2 separate regions of the Homo sapiens genome follow, and region 2 is linked to region 1. Evidence: promoter capture Hi-C in human tissues and cell types (Jung and others, 2019). All regions are on one chromosome and are shown on one strand. The core of a region is centred on a gene start or on the middle of the fragment in contact, and the rest is flanking DNA. Distances in the headings are between cores, read along the strand shown.

Region 1 (5,156 bases), core at 1,012-3,511:
ACCAGAATTAATGTATTACCCCACTGTAGCGTTTAGTACTCAGCCAATCCAAACTTTCCTAGAGAAATATGTGATTGAGACACTTTCCATCTGTTTTTGACAAAGACAGGAGAAGATTCCCACAAGTTATTTTCTGCTGAAAATTATTTTTTAAAAACTATACAATTATCATTATCTCAGGAGGCTCTGCAGCTACAGAATTTTCAGTGACACCAAAATAAAAGCTAAAAAAATGAAATAAAACCCACCTGTGCTGGATCAGCTTTTCGTGGCCTCAGCAACAACATTCGCAGATATTATAGAACCACATAAAAAAAGAAATAGATATGTTTGGGAGAATAGGCGGCCGGGTGCTCTTGATTAATCTAAATTCCTTCTGTGTGAAGTAGAGTCTTTTATAAAAACATCGCAAGATGTGCGAGGAACTAAAACATACTAAGGGGGAAGGATTTTTAACTCGGCCCCAGCAAAAAGAACTCTGTGCCCCTCCATGGCCCTGGATGGCGGATGAGAGAGGGGCTCGCCTGCTCACAGAGCCTAAGGACGGCGCCTCCGTGGCTCGAGCTTGTCTAAAGGGACTTGGAAGGTGTCTGGTGAAAAGGACCCGGTGCAGGACGCCCTAATCGCTCTTCCAGAGGAAACCAGAACTTGGAGTGCTCCTGGCAGCTGTGTCCCCCGAGCCTTCTCCTCGCGCAGGGCCCGGCGCGCACAGCCTCCCTGTCCCCCAGACCCGTTTCCCAGCCTGGACCCCTCGCCCATCCCTGCGGGGCTGGATGGGCGGGGCCCCTCCCGGGTACTCCAGGGTCAAGGTTGGGACTCAGGGCTCCCAGTTCCTAGGTCAGCTCCACCTGCCTGCGGGCGCCCTGGGGCTCCGCGCGGCTGCGTCGGACCCGCCTGCCTCAGCGCTCCAGGCTCTGCGCTCTCGGCCCAGGGCCCTTCTCGGGCACACCCGGCCCTGTGGCTGCTCTGGCCCCGAAGCGCAGGGCAGTTTCCTCCCGTCCTCCCCAGGCAAACCCTGGAGCCGCAGGCCCGCACCTCTACGCCCACTGGGCAGGCCAGGGCGCCGACGGCCGGGGACCCCAGGCGCGAGCAGCTGGGTAGATCTGAGTGTCCGCCCGACGGACGCGCTCTACCCTTGCCCAGGAAGAAAGCGAAGCCATTCGCCCGGCAACACCCGGCTCGGGCAGCTTCGCGGGCGGCCTGCGCTGCGGCGGACGCAAAGGGCAGCTGGTCCTCATATCCCAGTCCCCAGCCGGCCCCAGGAGGTTTTTCTGATGCTCGCTCCTTCCACCGCCAACCACGGACACCCACACACCACCGAGAATGAAAACTGCGACCATCTGTCTAAGTATCTTCAGAACCCGCCGGGGGAGTCACCGGTCCGCCGGTTCCCAACTGACACCCTCGCGTGGAAGTCTGCACTCAGGGGTGTCCCTGGGACTGTGAGCGTCCCGCCCGCCCGCCTTCCTTGCTAAGAGGAAAAGCGCACGGCATCCAAGCCCCCGCGGCCCGCGGGGCCTCGCCGAGGAGACACGAGCAGGCCCCAATGCCCCTGCGCCCCTGCCGCCCGCCCCCCGCAGCGGAGGGCGCCCGTCGCGCGCGCAGCACCTACCCTGGCGCGCCGGTCCGGAGGTGGGTGGCGCGGCGCTAGTGGGAGGCGGACATGGACCACGCGCCCTCCATGCGCCACACGGAGAAGGCGTAGCTGAGGCGCTCGTGGGCCACGTAGCTGCAGCTGGTCATCTTATTGTCCATCTCGTCGCTCTGCAGGACCTGGTAGAGGAAGTCTATGTACCTGGCGGCCAGCTTGAGCGTCTGGATCTTGCTCAGCTTGTCAGAGGGCAGCGTGGGGATGATCTTGCGCAGCGCCGCGAAGGCCTCGTTGAGCGACTGGGTGCGCTGGCGCTCGCGCACGTTGGCCAGGATGCGCTGGCTCTGCAGCTCCTCGAAGGACTGCGCGCTGGGGCTGCCCTTCTTGCCGCGCTTGCCCGGGGTCGGGCTGCCATCTTCGCTCGACTTCTTGCTGTAGCGCCGCTTCCGGCCGAAGCGCTTGGGCTGCCTCTCGAGCTCCTCCTCGCTGGTGCCCAGGCTGTCCACGGGGGACACGGGCGAGCTGGAGCCCTCCTCCATGGCGCCCGCCCGGCGCGCGTGGGGCTGGGGGCGCCGGGGCGCCGAGCGCGCGCCGCTGGCCAAGCCCGCGGTCGCCGAGCACACGCTCTCGGAGTTGCTGGAAAGGCTCTGATTTCAAGGCCGGCTTGTGCAAAACCGAGGTCTCCGGGAGAGGAAGTTATTCTAACTTTTTTGGAAACTCTAGCTGGGCTGGGTTGCTAAATAGTTGTCAGGAGCTAGGGCGGCGCGCTGATTGGCCGCGGTGGCCGGGGGCAGGACAAGTTCTGGGGCCTTCGCCGGCCGCCCCCGCCCCCCGGCGCGGCACTTTCAGTTTTGCCTCCCCCTTCGGCCCCGGCGCGGAGGGCATCCCGGGGGCCGGGTCCTCGCCCGCCGCCCGCGCCCCCACCCCGAACGCAGGGCACTCTCAGGCCGCCCCGAGCCCTAGGCCCGGCCAAGCCTGGCTTTGTCTACGCCTCAACGTAGAGATCGGCCCCCACTGGGCTTTGGGGGGTTCTCTCTCTGGGCGTGAGGGGCTAGAGAGGCGAGTCCAGTCCCAGATGCGCTCCCAGAAGATGAGGACGCAGCCAGGAGCCTCCTCGACCTGTGTGGGTCTTGGCCGCCCCCGGGCGCACAGCTAGTCTGCACCGCGGCCCGCAAGCTTAGGCCTGGGGTCTGGGGAGCTGCGCGGGCAGGGGTCTCGGTGTCCGGACCGCCAGTGTAAGGACAGTCGGGGCCCCCTGGAGACGCCCGTGCCCAAGGACATGCCGCCAAGATCCGTGGAGATGCCACCCTTCGGCCAGCGTGCGTGTCGGGGACCATTTCTTACCCTGGCTTGCTGGGGAGCCCCGGCCCCGACGCCCTTCCCGAACCTTCCTTCTAACAGCTTTAAAACAACGCCACAGCGAGCCTCTGCGGGAGCGCCCGGTACCCGCCGCGCCCGCCTGCCTGGCCCTACCCGGGTTGCTGGGCGCGGGTTGGGGCGCCTGCCGGCCCGCCTTGTACGGCCCCAGCCTCTGCGCTCCGCCTTCGCTTCGCGGGTCAGCAGAGGACGGAGGGCGCTCCGGGAGCTGCACGAGGCTGCCCCGGGCCCAGCCTCCGCTGCGCTGGCAGCCCGCGGGCAGCTCCGAGCAGGAGGCTCAGGGTGGCTGGAGTGTGGGGCCCGGCCTCGGTGAGCGACACCACGGACCCCGGCCCCGGGCCATCTGGACGGCGAGCGCGAGCGCGTTTGAAGTGGTTGGGGGGCTCTTTGTTCGCCAGGCCGCTCTGGCTCTGGGCCTGGAGGTGGTTTTTACGGCTTTGATGCCTTTGAACCTATTCCCAGGTGACCCGGGCTCAATTAGGCCCGGGCCTGAGCCGGGCTGTCAGGCAAGCCGCGTGATCAAGGGCGGGCTGGGCCCTTTTATTGAAGTTGAACCCGAGACCGGGGAGTGCTCGGCCTCCGCTGCTCCTCCGGCCGGCCAGGCGGGCCGCGAGGTGGGGCCCGCGGGCCACGACCACCGCGTTGGGAAACCCGAGGACGGCAAAGAGCGGGCCCTTCGCGCCCCTGTCCGAGGGCCCTGGCTCCGGCCGTTCTAGGGGACGTTTTACCAACAATCCGTCCAGGAAGGCAGAACGCCTAGGAGCGGGCCCTCGCATGCATGTGAGTCGGTAGCAGCGCCCTGCGCAGTGTCCGCGCACCGGACCCGCGGCTTCAGTTCGGTGCCTAAAGGTTCTGCAGAGCCACCGCACCCAGCCCCACCCGGCCTGACCGCCCTCCTTCCTCCGCGCTGGGAAGGCCCACGGCCCCTCTAGCCCAACAAAATAGCTTTCCAGGTCCCTTTCTTTAAAATTCTCAAATAAAAATTTAAGGAACGAGAGAGAGAGAGAGAGAGAAGCCAGGTCCCCAGCCGTCCTGCCGGTGCTGGGCTGCAGCCCTTCCTGGGGCTTCACGTCAGATGGAAAGGGCCTGTTTTTCCCGAACTGGCCTTTCCCTGGTTTCTTTGCTCAGAGCAGTGACAGTAGCGATTTGCTGCCCTTTTACCAACCCTGTGTGGGTCCAAGGACCCAGATCCAGGGACATCTTCCCTTTCCCAGATGCGGAGGGCTTTTACTGAGGAGAGGACCTGCCTGGTAGCCTGCTTCGCCATCCTCGTCTCCCTGTCTGCGTGCCCCTGTGTCACTCTGGCTCTGTCGGCGTGTCTCTTTCTCTGTCCTTTCTGTCTCTTTCTCCAGCAGAGAGAGTTCATAGTTTAGTTTGAAAGAAAAACAGCTCAGCTTTGGTCCTGAGCAGCCCAGGGCTCAGCCCAGCCCTGAAGACCAGAGGCCCCGGGGACGCCCTGGAAGGGCAGCGCAAGCTGGATTGCAGGCTCACCTCTGCCTGGGGAGATGGACCTGGAGGATTTCACCTGCGACCCCCCGGGGCGCCCTGGAGCTATCATAACCAGCAGCCCAGTTCAACCGTCTGGATGCACTTTCTTCATGGCGTGTCTTGTCTATTTTAAAATGCTTTAACAATGATTATAGTACTGGAGGCTGTGATACTGACGGCTGCCTGCGGAAAACCTTGCTTAACAGAATTTGGAGTGACTTTCTTATGCTGTATTGCCAGCCCCTCAGAGTCATTACCTGGGCAGTGACCCCTTGCATACATAGGAGAAGCTAAGGCACAGTGGCATTTAGCAGCGTTTCCAATGTCACCTGTATGTTGGCTGGGGAAGTGACAGCATTCCCCTCTTTTGAGGAGGGGAATTTGCTGAATTAAAACCCAAATGAAAATGTCATCAATTTGGGAAATAATACTCAGGTTATTGATTTAGTTTGAGTTTTTCTTTCAAAAATTAAGTCAGTGATAAGGCTAATAAAGCCAATTTATTAATAGCATAAGTAATACAATATATCTCTGTGTGAATACTCTTTGCAGGACCACCCAGGCTCACTTGGACTTCAGTAAAATATCACGCAACAAAGATTCACAGAAGTAAATACAGTTCTTGGGGTACTTATTCATTACTGAGTATGGAAAATCCTGTGAATGCTTCCTTTCATATATGTAAAAAAGTGTGCTTTGT
Region 2 (5,156 bases), core at 1,841-4,340, 330 kb after region 1:
CCATCACCACCACATCACTGTCATCACCATCACCATCACCACCATAACCATCATCACTCTCAAGTGGTCTTCCTGTGACAGAGAACATGCAACTCTCTGAGTCAGCCCATCTCATTTATGGACAGTTTTGCTAATAGCTATTTGCTTCTTTTGTTTGTTTGTTTGTTTGTTTCCATTGTAATTCGCCTTCCCATCTATATGGTCTGTTGGGTGTTGCTAGAATGGGTGTTGGATAATTTATTATTTAAAAAAAAAACAGGTTTCTTTAGCCCATGGTTGTACAGGCTGGGAAGTTCCGGGGAATGGCAAGCTTCCCCCACCTCTCTCTGGGAGTCACAGCAAGGAGACCCTGCCTCCCTTCTCCCCCTGTGATCAGGGTGCAGGGCGGTGTGACACAAAGTCCCTGCTTTGTGTCTTTTCAAACACAGAATAGAGAAGGGGGAGCAAGTGTGCTGGAGCTCCAGGCCTGGCTATATTATTTAGACTTGTATCAACTTGGCCATGTCATTTAGCTTGTCTGAGCCTGAGTTTCCCCAAATGGTTATGTTGAGAATTAAAGGAGGCCATATGACTACCTGGTACACAGCCTCACCCCCAAGAAGAGCCTAAAAATGTGTATATCCCTGTGAATTCCACTGAGGGAGGGCAGGTTCCAAGGAGGAGGACCACAGGGAGAGCAGTGCCTGCTGCTGGGGTCGCCTCTGTGGCCCAGGGTTGCCGGTGGCTGGGCCCCCAGACGGCAGGGTCACAGGTGAGTGAGAGTTCTGTGAGGTGGGGTGGGTGGGACCCCTGGGACCGGTCAAACCTGGCCTGAGTAAAGCCTCCCCACAAGCTTTTGCCAGGGGCCCAGCCAACCCTCACTGGGTGCCAAGCCAGGCCTCTTGAAATGGCAGCAAGGAAAGACTCATTCAAGGTAAGAAGGAAAGCCAGGGCTAAGAGACAGCGGCCCCAGCATGCAAAAGGCAGGGTATACAGGTGCCTGGCCAGCTGGCTTCCAGTCCAGGCCACATCACTAAGCACCAACAGACTGACATACCCACCCTGGGCCTTGGCTTCTCGGCCTTTAACAGCAAGGCCAGACCAGCACTGCCCATGTACCAGAAGTAGCGTGTGCACGCACGTGTGAGGAGGTGTGTGCACAAACCTCCAGGGAGGGGCTCTGTGATCTCCAACAGATCACCAGGGACCCAGCACTGAAAACTGAACACAGACTCCAGTGGTAGATAATCCCCAAGAACCTCCAGGTTTAGTGGCCCAACCACCACGGCCGGTGCAGAGTCCCTGGGTGGGAGGGGGGTGAGGGGGCACCTCCAGAGAGCAGATCCAACCCCTGAGCAGCAGGGTCTCCACAGGACGGTAAGAACACCCCAACTTCTCCTTTGCTCCCTCTGGATAAGAAAGGCTACAGGATCTTTGTCCAAATAGCACAACGAGGCCAAGGGTGGAGATGAAAGCGCTGAGTTGGCATTGCAGGAATAGTTCCTGATAGGCCGGATCTCAAAGTTGGATGTTTGATTGATGAATTCCTCTGTGTAAAAATAAATAGCAAGACGACCCAGCTCTCCACAAAGAGCAGAGTGGGAGGAGGAGCTGCAATGTGCCCCCCACATGACGAGCCCAGGAAAGCATGTAGGTCTGCATGTGTGTGCAGTGCGTGTCTGTGTAAGTAAATACACCAGCGTGTGCGTGAAATGTGTTCTCACATCAAGCGTTCCGACCCTCCGTTTGCCTGGGGAGGCGGAAGTGCTCAGAGTGAAAATCAGATGCAGACATGTGTATGACAGCAAGTCCAAGTCTAATTAAAACAAGCTTCCCACCTCTCCTCTCCAGGAACTGAGATGACCCCTGCTGGATTCTCAGTAGCTTCTGTAGGTTTGGTGCGTTTTTAAAAGGAGCTAACCATTATCCCATCAAGTACATCGGACGAAGTGTGTATGTTTCCATTTAAACCCCCTGAGTCTAAGATGGTATTTAATTCTGTGGAAACCACTGAAATCCTGCAGGATTCTGAGGAAACAGTCTATTGATTCACGTCAGTCCTTCCCAAACCTCTGACAAAACGAGAATTCTTTCCCGATGAGCCTCCCACCCCCGTAGCAGGGCGGACGCTTAGATGAAGCAAGAGCTTTGATGTGAGAGAAGTGCTGTCGCTTGAGCCAACAGACACAGCTGCCCCTTGAAGGGACCAAGGAGATTTCCCATAAACGAGCTCCGGTAAATTCCAGGGCTGAGGCAGGGTTTTGTTTCACCCTGGATGGCGAAAGAAAGAAAGAAAAATGGCATAATGCTGCACACTTACCAACATGTCATACATTCTTACACAAATCGCACCACAGAACATACTCCCTCTTACCCACTACTACCAAAAATAAAGAAAAGTTCAAGGATGCTGAAATCACCAAAAACCACCAGCTCATGACAGACACCCTAGAGCAAACCCGCTGTGGGGGTGCACAGAGAACGAAGTCCGGACTAAAAGGAGCCGCGGGGCCCAGGCATACAGGACAAGGACTTTTGCTCTCTCTAGTTTGGGGCAAATGGAAAACCCATATGAAACTCCCGTCACTCCAAGATGAGTAAATAAAAGAATTCCAGCACCTTAAGCTATACAAAACTTCAAAATGAAAATACAGCAAAGTAAAAAAGCAGATAAAGAGAGCACTTCAGAACATGGCAAGAAATTAAAGTGGAGACAAAAACTGTTCTCATATTCTCAAGTCAATGAAAGAAAACATGTAAAAATTTAGACATGTAGATATCTTTTTCATCTAACTTTTTAAGTACCTTATATATGTATATATGTTTATTTATATACATAAAGCACATATTTATATAAATGTTTATATAAATCATATAAATATATATGCAAGTACTGTACATAATCTTACCTAATCCTTAAATTGAATTAATAGTCTTATTTCCATTTTACACATGAAGAAACTGAAGCACCTGAAATTGAAGTCAATTGGTAATTATAACAATAAATATAAATGGGACAAATACACTGTTCCAGTTTCTATTTGCTGGGTAACAAACCATCTTAAAACTTAGCAATATAAAAGCCATTTTATTTATGCTCACAATTCTACAGGTCAGGAGTCAGGGCAGGCACAGAGAGGAAAGCTTGTCTCTGCCCTACCATGTTGGCAGACTCATTCTGCTGAAATAGGAGATAGCAGGGACAGCTCAAGTCGTGTCACATGTGTGGGCCTTGATTCTTCTTGACATGGCATCCTCTGGGGATTCTCAGTAACTTATGTAGATTTGGTGCATTTTTAAAAGAAGCTAACCATTATCCCATCAAGTATGTATGATGAACTGTTTATGTTTCCATTTGAACCTTCTGAGTCTGTGAGGGTATTTAATTCCATGAAATCCTGCAGGATTCTGGGGAAACAATTTACTGGTTTACATCAGTCCTTCCTGAACCTCCAACAATGCAGTTCTTTCCCGACAAGTCTCCCAGTCCTGTAGCTCTGGATGGATGTTTAGATGAAGCAAGAGCTTTGATGTGACAGAAATTACCAAGGTGACTTCTTTTACTGCCGGTCTAGTGATCCTAGCACCCGGGATGATATGGGTGGAATAGCTAGGGTCTGGACAGCTCGCTCTCTCTCTCTCTCTCTCTCTCTCTCTCTCTCTCTCTCCAAGTGGCTTCTTGACATGGCTAGCTTGGGTTCATCATAGAATTGTGGCCTCAAGGTAGTTGGACTTCTCACATAATGGCTGCCTACCCTCATCCCCTTTCAAGTGAGCACTAAGATACCAAAGTAAAAGCACCAAAGTTTCTTCAGTCTAGCCTTAGAAGTCATGCAGTATCAAGTCTCCTGCATTCCATTGATCAAAACAGTCATAGAGCCTGTCTAAATTCCAAGGGAAGGGAACCATAGACCCCAACTCTTGAAGAGAGGACTGTCAAAGAAGTTGTGGCCATCTTTAATCTGCCATTCTTATCTTTTAAAAGAAAAAAGTCACTCAGAAGTCAGGAAAGGCTGCAATGCTCTGGAGGAAACCAACTGAAGAAAATAAACAATGCACTCCTAAATAACCAATGGTTCAAAGAAAAAAATCACAAGGGAAACTAGAAAATACTTTGAACTGAGTGAAACAAAACCACAACATACCAAAACTTACAGGATGCCACTAAAGCAGTGCTTAGAGGGAAATGTCTAGCTATAAATGCTAGATCACAAAAGAACAAAGATCTGAAATAAATAATCTAACGTTCCACTTGCAAACCCCAGTGGTAGATAATCCCTAAGAAAATAAGAAAAATAAGAGCCAACCCAACTGAAAACAAGCAGAAGGAAGGAAATAATAAAGATTAGAGCAGAAATAAGAGAAACAGGGAAGAGAAAACCAGTGGAGAAAATCAATGAAACCTAAAAGCTGGTTCTTTGAAAAGGTCAACAAAACTGACCAACCTTTAGCTAGACTGACTAAGAAAAAAGAGGAATGACTCAAATGACTAGAATCAGAAATGAAAATGGGGACATAACTAAGGACCCTGAAGAAATAGAAAGTGTTGTAAAGGAACACCATGAACAATTATACACCAACAAATTGTATAACTTAGATGAAATGGACAAATCCCTAGAAAGACACAAACTACTGAAGCTGACTCAAGAAGACAATGTGAATAGACTTATAACAAGTGAAGAGATTGAACTAGTAATTCAAAAATTACCCAGAAAGAAAAGTCCAGGCCCACCCAAGCTTTATCACTGAATTCTGCCAAACATTTAAAAAATTAATATGAATTCTTCACGACTCTTCCAAAAAACAGAAAAACCGCAGGAACATTTCTTAACTCATTTTATGAGGTCACTATTACCCTGATGCCAAAACCAGAAAAGACATTACAAGAAAACTACAGACCAATATCTCATATGAATATAAACAAAAAAATTCTCAGCAACATACTAGCAAACTAAGTCTGCAACATATAAAAAGAGTTACACATACACCCATGGCCAAGTGGGATTTGTCCCAGAAATGCAAGCTTGGTTCAACATCTGAAAATAAATGAATATAATACATCATATCAATAAAATAAAAAACAAAAGTCATATAATATTCTCAATAGAACCAGAAAAGGCTTTTGACAAAATTCAACACATTTTCACGATTAAAAAAAAACACTCAACAAACTAGAA

Evidence for each region. Contacts are between HindIII fragments. The study calls those that stand out against the background at their distance.
Region 2: a contact is called between a fragment that was not itself captured here and the fragment with the promoter of TWIST2 in region 1, in 1 of the 25 tissues and cell types used here (IMR-90 fibroblasts).

What each region holds. Positions count from the first base shown.
Region 1 is chr2:238,845,190-238,850,345 of GRCh38, reverse strand. TWIST2 (twist family bHLH transcription factor 2) reads right to left here and starts at 2,261. Exons shown (of 2, transcript NM_001271893.4): 1 at 1,613-2,261. The coding sequence starts at 2,130. The coding sequence ends at 1,648. It overlaps LOC100287387 (a long non-coding RNA gene), which reads left to right and starts at 2,439. Exons shown (of 1, transcript NR_157851.1): 1 at 2,439-5,156. RefSeq lists enhancers at 750-1,260, 1,261-1,770, 3,304-3,814, 3,815-4,325. The HindIII fragment of the contact is 12,284 bases long and covers 1-5,156 here.
Region 2 is chr2:238,515,298-238,520,453 of GRCh38, reverse strand. The region is part of intron 2 of LINC01107 (long intergenic non-protein coding RNA 1107); the gene reads left to right. Among named protein-coding and RNA genes, the nearest start is that of LINC01107, 38 kb to the left of the region's middle. RefSeq lists an enhancer at 1,624-2,823. The HindIII fragment of the contact is 3,538 bases long and covers 1,322-4,859 here.